2 separate regions of the Homo sapiens genome follow, and region 1 is linked to region 2. Evidence: promoter capture Hi-C in human tissues and cell types (Jung and others, 2019). All regions are on one chromosome and are shown on one strand. Each heading gives the region's core, a stretch centred on a gene start or on the middle of the fragment in contact. The rest is flanking DNA. Distances are from core to core; before and after follow the strand shown. Region 1 has its middle 12 kb from the start of LINC01647. Region 2 holds the start of SRM (spermidine synthase).

Region 1 (4,377 bases), core at 119-2,618, 560 kb after region 2:
GTGGGGTTTTTGTCACTTGCAACCAAAACAGTGCTGACTAGGGTCCTGGGACACACCTGTTTGGGGGCAGAAAGTGGGAAGCAGAACATTTCATTGCCCTCAGCCCCTGTGACGGTCTAGGGAGGCCCTTGTCCATAAGGAAGGCATGGGATCTCGGGAGAAGCCACCTGAAGATCACAGGGGCATGTCCTGGACCGAGAGTCAAAACACCTGGGCTCTTTCACTCCCAAGCTGCGTGACCTTCGACCAGTCAACCAACCCCTCCTTTATCAAGCATGCCTTTTATTTTCTGTGTTCTGATACTTTGACATCTGGGGCTTTGTGACCCTGGAGGGTTAAGAGCTGGTAAATTCTTAGAGATAGTAACCAACTTGCCCATGAGCCCATTTGCTTTGAAAATGCAAACCAACCAATCCAGAGTCTATACCAGCAACTACCTCCTTTATTGGCTCTCACACTTTGGACCACTATCCACCTGCCCTGATCACTCCAGGGTCATCTACCAGACAACTAGGGGCAGCCCTTGTGGCCCAGAATGCACTGAAATTATTCAAACTAGCCAACCCTAAGCCGGCTTGCTCTGCCTCATTCGTTCCTTCTCATGGATACCACAATAAATGTTCTTGCCCACGATTTCCCCCTCCCTCTACCTCCTGACTGCCCCTATGTGCCCCCTCATGGCTGGACAAGCCCGCTCCTCTTGGGATCTGTGAGTGTAATAATCTGTCTTTTTTTTTTTTTTTTTTTTTTTGAGGCGGAGTTTTGCTCCTGTCACCCAGGCTGGAGTGCAATGGCGCAATCTCGGCTCACTGCAACCTCCGCCTCCCAGGTTCAAGCGATTCTCCTGCCCCAGCCTCCCAAGTAGCTGGGATTACAGGAGCCCGCCACCATGCCCAGCTAATTTTTGTATTTTTAGTAGGGACGGGGTTTCACCATGTTGGCTAGGCTGCTCTTGAACTCCTGACCTCACGTGATCTGCCCGCCTCAGCCTCCCAAAGTGCTGGGATTACAGGCGTGAGCCACTGTGCCTGGCCACAGACTGTCTTTTCAATGTCAGCTGTCTGCTAATCTGTTGACCTCACCATATCTGGAATCAGACGTGATTGTGTAAAAGCCTTGAAATTACAGAGGGCTCTGCAGATGAGAGAGGGTGCATTCAAACCCAAAGACAGTCCTTCTAGAACACTACCATTAGATTGCCTTTGGAGCAAGTAGAACTGGAATTATCATCCTACTCCTCAGATGGGTAAACTGAGGCACAGCAAGGTTAAATGCCTTGCCCTAAGACTTGCAGCTCGTTTTCCAAAGATCCAGAACTGGAAGTCAAGACAGAAGAAGGTATAATCCAGGCCAGCTGGGGTTAACCAAGGAGTGTGTCTTGGAGGAGGTAGACAGGCGCCCGCCACACACATGCACACCCTGTATGCACACACACCCATGCACACTGTCTCTTTCTGCCAGCCCTGGCTGAATTAAGAATGCATGTGCTGTAGAGGACCGGCTAGACAATTTTCCTGTCACTCCCGCTCCTAGTTTCTCCCACCTCGTCCTTGGACACAACTGGGAATCTCTTTAAGGCTCACAATTGGGCCCTTTCAACTGGCATTGGTTCCACGCCTCACCACGTGACTCCGCCTCTCCCCAAGCTTTTCAGTGGCCACTTTCTCAGCCCAACGAAGCCTGACAAATCCTTCCTGCAAACGTGCATGTCCCGGGCTCAGAATAACCTACCAAAAGAAAATAAAACCCCCATGAAGTGAGTCCAGGTGACTCAAAGCGTTCTGTTGGCAGCAGCATTTCCGGCGTCTGCTTTCTCTCTGGATCACAAACATTTCTCATCTGCTGGAGCCATTCAAGACAAGGCCACAGGCAGCCAAGGAAGCCCATGGCCCTGGAGACCCCAAACAACTGCACTGAAATGATTAGATGCTCCCCATCTTCCTGCCAGGAGTGTGTTGGGGGCCGGGGAAGGAAGACATCTGGTCTTTTGTACAAATAGAGAATAACAACAATCGTAGTAATTGTCAGTACAAAGTTATTGCCACTCACTATATGCCAGCCATTGTTCTGTTAATAGGCACTTTGCATTTCTTAGCTCATTTAGTCCTAACACCAAGTCACTAAGACAATTATTAATACTGTGCCCATTTTACAGTTGGGAACACTTGCAAAGACTGAATCCATCTGACAACCCGTGATCAACACCCTTACATGGCAATGATCAGTGGAGCAGAGAAATGGCTGCCCCTTTAGGTGGGACGCGCTGTTCCAATTTGCCACAGCCCCCACCAGTCCCTGTTATATTACACCCTGTCTGTCTCACCCATTTAAGTCACTTGCTCTGCACCTATGGGTGTCTGAGTTGTCAACCTCTACACTATGCTGCCTCCTCCCTCATACTTCCTTCACTCTCATCTCCTTCTTCAGGAATCAGGATTTGGGGCCTAAATCTGCAGAAAGCTCGACCCTTCCCTTTCCTACAGACTGACTCCTCCAGGAAGCCTTCCCTGCTTAATCACCAACGCTGCAAATGTCTAAGCTGAAAGGATTATTTGAGGTCATTTGGTTCTAACCCGTCAGTTACAGATGAGGATACTGAGGCCCAGAGAGCTAGGAATGCTGCTGTCTGCCTGGTCCTACGCCTAACGGTGATCAAGCCCTGTCCGCCAACAAGGTCAGCATGCCCCTTCCTACCTGTCGGGGAGGTAGGGCTGGGGTTGTTCCCGTGCCCATTTTATGGATGAAGGAACTGAGGCAAGATGCTGGGTCTCTCTTTGCAATGTCTGAGGCTGCTCTCACTTCCGAGGGCTCCCTGACCACGGGCCAAGGCTGTTTGGCCCTCCCAGTATTCCTGATGCTTCCATCAGTCCCTGAGCTCTAGAACCAGGTCTGAGCCCCCTCACCTTTGCCTGGGCACAGGGCCTCAAGGAGCCCTAGCTTTGTGCTGCACCTAAGCCTCCTTGTCTGATATTCTGGCCCTTCGTTCCACCTCCTGCATTTCACATCTGGCCCAGCTACACTGTCCTTCCAGGGGTAGGTGGAGCCTGTATTCTGCTTATTTCCCAACAGAAGAAAGAGCATCCCAGAGAGGCTAAATGTGACCTAAGGTCACACAGGGACTCCTGGCAAAGCTGGCAGCAGCACCTGACCCCAACCCCTGTCTTACCATGTTTTTCTCTCCACTCTGTGACCCATTCTCTCTGCTCAGGCCTCCCTCTGGGGACCCCGACCATCTGGAAGACATTCCTTTTTCTGAGTGGGCAGTAGAGTCTTAGACCCACCCCAGACAGTCATTTTTGTGGAACCTTTGATACACACACCCTGGCAGGACCCTTAGGGTCCCCTCCCTCCTACTTCCAGGACCTGCCTATCTCTGGATAACCCAAGACTGTCTGTACAGCTGTGCAGGTTGCACACTGCTCGCCCAGCACAGCCACTTACTACAGTCCTAATTGTCACTCACTAGGCATCCCCACACATCCTGCACAGTACAGCTGCCAAATGCAGGAAGGGTTGCAGCAGCCTGCCACTCCCGGGCACCAGTGAGCTTCTCCTTCTCCACTCTGCACCTCCTAACCCTCCCACCACCACCTCTGAAGCAATCAGGAGGCCACCAGGACTGGCAGGAAAGGTCCCCTGAGTAGGGGAAATCTTGCTTGGCCATAATTAAACTCCACTGCTGTGCAGGCTGCAGACAAAAAGGAACCCATAATGGGATTAGAATTGTAATAAATTAAAATCATAAATTCAATAAACGCCTTCTTGGCCTCCCTCTGGAAATGGCCAGCCCACAGCAACTGGCTTTGGTAGGCATAACGGAGGGGCCATGGGAAGACAGGTCAGTGCAGACAGGCAGGCTGCAGTTTCAGCTGCTGGTCCCAGCTGACTGGGGCCAGGTCAGGGACCCTTCTCCAGAGCAGACTCACCCAAGGACAGGCCATGACCACCGGTGGTGCTCCAGAACCCACTGTGGCTCCCTATCACCCCACCATTTAATCCAGCTTAGCCCTTCACCAACTTCCTGCCTTAGGATTTACTGACACACGCCTCTGCCATCCATCATTTGGGCATCCATTAAATGGCCATTGGCCTCAAATGTACAGGGTGGTGGAAGGGACGCATTTGACATGGGAAGGTTCTGAGTTTGAATCCCAGCTCTAGCACATGCGAGCAGTGAGACCTGGGATGGGTACGTGCATTCAGGTGTACTCCCCCCTCCCACCCTGAGAACACCTTTTACCCACCCTTGTACTCATCCTCTCATTTTGCCTGTAATTTATTGAGTTCCTACTGTGTGCTGGACTCTGTGTCAATCAGTGGGGAAAACAGCAGCAAGACAGGCAAGGTCACGGGGCTGGCATTCCAACAGGGGACACA
Region 2 (4,455 bases), core at 741-3,240:
CTTGGCGTCCCAAAGTGCTGGGATTACAGGTGTGAGCCACCACGTCTGGCCATCTGATGTCTCCTTTAACTAGGACATCAGCTCCTAGAGGGCAGGGACTGATCTGTCGTCTACCACTGTCCCCATACCCGGGCAACACCTGGCACGTAGCATGATTTTAGTGAGCAGCTACTGAGTGTAAGGGGTAACGTACAAATAGTTGAGCTGTCTTGGGGCCCTGCCTGGGGCTCAGATTAAAAATCAGCTTAGTCGGCTGGGCGTGGTGGCTCACGCCTGTAATCCCAGTACTTTGGGAGGACGAGGCTGGCGGATCACCTGTGGTCGCCAGGTCCGAGACCAGCCTGACCAACATGGAGAAACCCTGTCTCTACTAAAAATACAAAATTAGCCGGGCATGGTAGCGCATGTCTGTAATCCCAGCTACTCCGGAGGCTGAGGCAGAAGAACTACTTGAGCCCAGGAGGTGGAGGTTGCAGTGAGCCGAGATCGCACCATCACACTCCAGCCTGGGCAACAAGAGCGAAACTCTGTCTCAAAAAAAAAAAAAAAAAAAAAATCAGCTCAGTTTTAGTAAGAGCTCGCCACGCAGGTGCCCTCACCACCTGCCAGGCCCTCTGCCATCTGGTTTTCCTACTGAACCCTCCCCGACCAGGTGTTTTCCAGATGGAGAAACAGGCCCTACCTGCCTTGCTCGGGGGTGTGCAGCCATTTCAGGGCACAGCTGGCCGCTGGGAGAACCAGGACTCAAACCTGGCTCTACGCCGGCACTCACCTCGTCGATCTCACACTGGACCACGGACTCCACGGAGGGGTGCTTCACCACCTCCCGCAGGACACCTCCATCTCCGCCCCCGATGATCAGCACCTGGGAGGAGGGGGCAGTCAAGGCAGGGGCCCTGGCAGGACTGGGAGCCCCCAGGCCCCTGAAGCAGACCCCCTGACCCCTCGGACCCACGGGCCTCATCTTTTTCTACCCTCGGAAACGCTTTCGTGCCGGTGTCCCCTTTCCTGGAAGTTCCTTCCAGGGCTGCCCTAGGATTCCGAGGCCGCGTCAGTGTCGGCCCCCACCCCTCCGCGGGACGCCCCTGGCCTCGCTAGCACTTTCTCTGACAACCATGCAGGCAGCATCTGGGAAGAGCCCGGAGCACACCTGGGGCCGCCCCTCGTCCGGCACTGTTCCAGGGGACACTGGGGTACCTTTCGCGGGTTGGGGTGGCTGCAGAGAGGCAGGTTGGCGATCATCTCCTGGTAGGAGAACTCGTCTCTCTCCGTGCACTGGATGACACCGTCCAACACCAGCACGTTGCCATAGGTCTTACTGCGGGCGGAGTGACAGTCGGGGACCTGGGTTCTCTGGGGTGGGGAAAACGTACCCCAAGCCGCCCTGGGTGAGGAGGGTCTCCCCATCCCGCCTAGGGGTCCCAGGGATGAGGAGCGATGGTGACACGTGGCGAGGAACGGCAGGCGGGCCGCCGGGTGGAGGCCGGGGTGGGACCCGGGGTCTCCTCGGGCTCTGACGTGTCCTGAGGGCTGACACGTGGAGCGGGGCGCAGACTCCGACTCCCCCACCCAAGAGGCCAGCCCGCAGTCCCAGCCCCAGCCCAGGGAGGCGGTGTGAGGGGTGGCGAGGGGGCCAGGGCAGGACGAGGTCCAGCCCGCTTGGGTCCCGGCGTGGAGAGGCCCGTGAGGCGGGCAGCAGGCGGCCCGGGCTGAGCCTAGGGGGCAGGCGCCTGCGGGCAGCGGCGGTACCTGCGGAAGACGAGGATGTCCTGGTAGCGCGAGCGCCGGTGGTGGAGCAGCTGCTCCACCTGCAGTGACAGGGCCTGGCCGGGCCACAGGCTGCAGGTCTCGCGGAACCAGCCCTCGCGGATGGCGGCGGGGCCGGAGGCGGCGGGGCCGTCGGGGCCGGGCTCCATGGCGGGCGGGCGGGCGGCGCGGGGCGCGGGCCCGGGACTGCAGGCCGCGCGGCGCCGCAGCACAACGGGACCAGCTCCGCCCGCCGCCCGCGCCGCAACCTAACCCGGGCGCGGGGCGGGGCCTGCCGGCGGGGGCGGAGCCCGCGCTCGCCAATGGCAAAGCGGCCTCGCCTGGCGCTCATTGGCCACCGGCTCGCAGAGCGGCGCAGAGTGGCTGTGGCGCGCCGTCCGTCGGCGGCAGCAGGGTAGTGCGGCCCGCTCCAGGGGCCACGTGGGGCCCGGCCGGGGCCGGGCGGCCGGGTCGGGTTCCGGGGCGGGCTGGGCCGGCGGAAGGGGTCCGGGTCCTTCCTCCGCCCCAAGCAGCCGGGGCGGTGCACCACCGGCCCCCGCTTCCTTCTCGGGGTTGGGAGGCACCGAGGGCCTCGAGGGGCTGCGGGACTCGGGCTTGGTGTGGAGGGCAAGAGCGCTGCGACGTGCGGACTGGAGAGTCAGCCTTTGGGCTGGAGACACGGGAGCGGGTGGCTACAGTGGTTTACGTTGTTGCACGGGGCGAGTAGAACGTATCCTTCTTTGCGTCCAAAATCTGGTTCCTTGTTGGATTTGAACAGATTATGTGGCTCGTCGGGGCGAACCGAGGGTTTTTATTTACTTGGAAAGAATCATCACAGCCCGCGAATTCACAAGCTGGATTTAGCCATTTTCCCTTAGATTCTGCGCCATGAGCCTATAGGCTGTTGAATACGAGAGAAGTGCTTTTCTAAACGAGTTTCTAAATTTACCAGCAGTGTCCAGGAAGAGGCCCAGAACATACATATTCAGCACCAGAAAAGACTGGCACGCAATTTTTCTTGACAAACTGGGTCTTGCTCTTTGAAGGGTGGGTGGGAATGTGCTGTTTTTATGAGAATGTCAAAGAACTTCTCAGAATCACATTAAGCATGCTAATTACCAAATATTAAATGCTAATTGTTCCACACGCAGTTCGAATGCCAAGGAAGGAAGATGAAACTAGTATAAGCTACTCTTGACATTATGTCAGGGATGGTTTTGACACGTTTTGCAGCCTCCACCTGGAGGTGGGGAACGTTTCCTGTGTCGTCCCCAGAGCAGAGTAACAGCGTTGTTTATGGGTGAGAGCAAGCCTCAAGCCTAGGCAACAATGTGCCTTGCTTGCTTTTAAGCTCCTTCTAAAGGGGAGGTAAACCAAGACCGCTAAAGAATTGCTAGGTGCCTGGGCGTGATGGTTCACCCCGGTAATCCCAGCACTGTGGGAGGCGGAGGCGGAGGCGGGCGGATCACGAGGTCAAGAGATCAAGACGATCCTGGCCAACATGGTGAAACCCCGTCTGTACTAAAAATACAAAAATTAGCTGGGCATGGTAGTGCGCGCCTGCAGTCCCAGCTACTCGGGAGGCTGAGGCAGGAGAATCGCTTGAACCCGGGAGTTGGAGGTTGCAGTGAGCTGAGATTGCGCCACTGCACTCTAGCCTGGGCAACGATAGTGAAACTCCGTCTCAAAAAAAAAAAAAAAAAATTGCTAGGCAGCTGGGCACAGGGGCTCAGGCTGATAATACTAGAATTTTGGGAGGCCGAGGCAGGAGGACCGCTTGAGCCCAGGAGTTCGAGACCAGCCTGGGCAACATAGCAAGACTGTCTCTAAAAAATAAAAAACATTGCTAGGCAACAGCTTCCATGGACTTGTTCCAGGAACGAAGATTATTCTTGAAATGTCCACGTAGTGGATAAGACAGAGTCAATCAGTGTGTCCAGTGCTACAGGCTTGATTGGGTTCAATCCTGTACTTGGGTCAAGGTGTTTGCCTACATTGCCTGTACTTCCTCCAAGACATTTCTGCCTCTGGGTTGTAACTGCCCGTGTACTTGTCTGTGTTCCCTAAGCCAGATCATAAGCTCTGAAGCTGAGGATGGTGGCTGTAGATGGCAGTACTTGTCTGTGTTCCCTGAGCCAGATCATAAGCTCTGAAGCTGAGGATGGTGGCCGTAGATGACAGGCCTGGATGCAGCCAGGTGCCTTGTGGATCAGCTTGCTTTTAGGTGGTGAAGGACTGACCATAGACAGTGGCCCTGGCATTCCAGGACACTGCATGGGGGAAAGTGGAGGGCCAGGTCCATCCCATCCCCTCTATAAGCTGGACAAAGCTGCTCCAGCATGTGGGTCCTCACATGAAAAAGGCCACATTGACATCCTTTGTCCTCCTGTAGAGGGAGTGAAACTGAGAGGCCTCAGCCTCAAGCAGGCACAGAACTTGAGACCTCTCGGCCAGAGTGTACAGACATTGCACAAACCTTCCAAGTTCAGAGAAGACAAAAGCCCTGAGTAAATTACAGACAAAAAAGCCCCCAAATATACAGCACTGTGAATCCAGAAATGCCACCTGACTTCAGGTCACAAGGAAGAAAAACTGATTTTGCCAGAAGTAGCCATTATTGCACAGCCCAGTTATAATCACAACTGACGTTAAAGTCAGGCCAGATGACCACAGAAGTCTACAGAAAAAAACCAGGATTGGCCACGCGTG

The links. Contacts are between HindIII fragments. The study calls those that stand out against the background at their distance.
Region 1: a contact is called between a fragment that was not itself captured here and the fragment with the promoter of SRM in region 2, in 1 of the 25 tissues and cell types used here (IMR-90 fibroblasts).

Annotation. Positions count from the first base shown.
Region 1 is chr1:11,618,989-11,623,365 of GRCh38, forward strand. No RefSeq gene overlaps it. Among named protein-coding and RNA genes, the nearest start is that of LINC01647, 12 kb to the left of the region's middle. The HindIII fragment of the contact is 3,706 bases long and covers 1-3,221 here.
Region 2 is chr1:11,058,028-11,062,482 of GRCh38, forward strand. SRM (spermidine synthase) reads right to left here and starts at 1,991. Exons shown (of 8, transcript NM_003132.3): 1 at 1,750-1,991; 2 at 1,198-1,318; 3 at 773-865. The coding sequence starts at 1,916. RefSeq lists silencers at 1,511-1,700, 1,911-2,440. The HindIII fragment of the contact is 6,396 bases long and covers 1-4,455 here.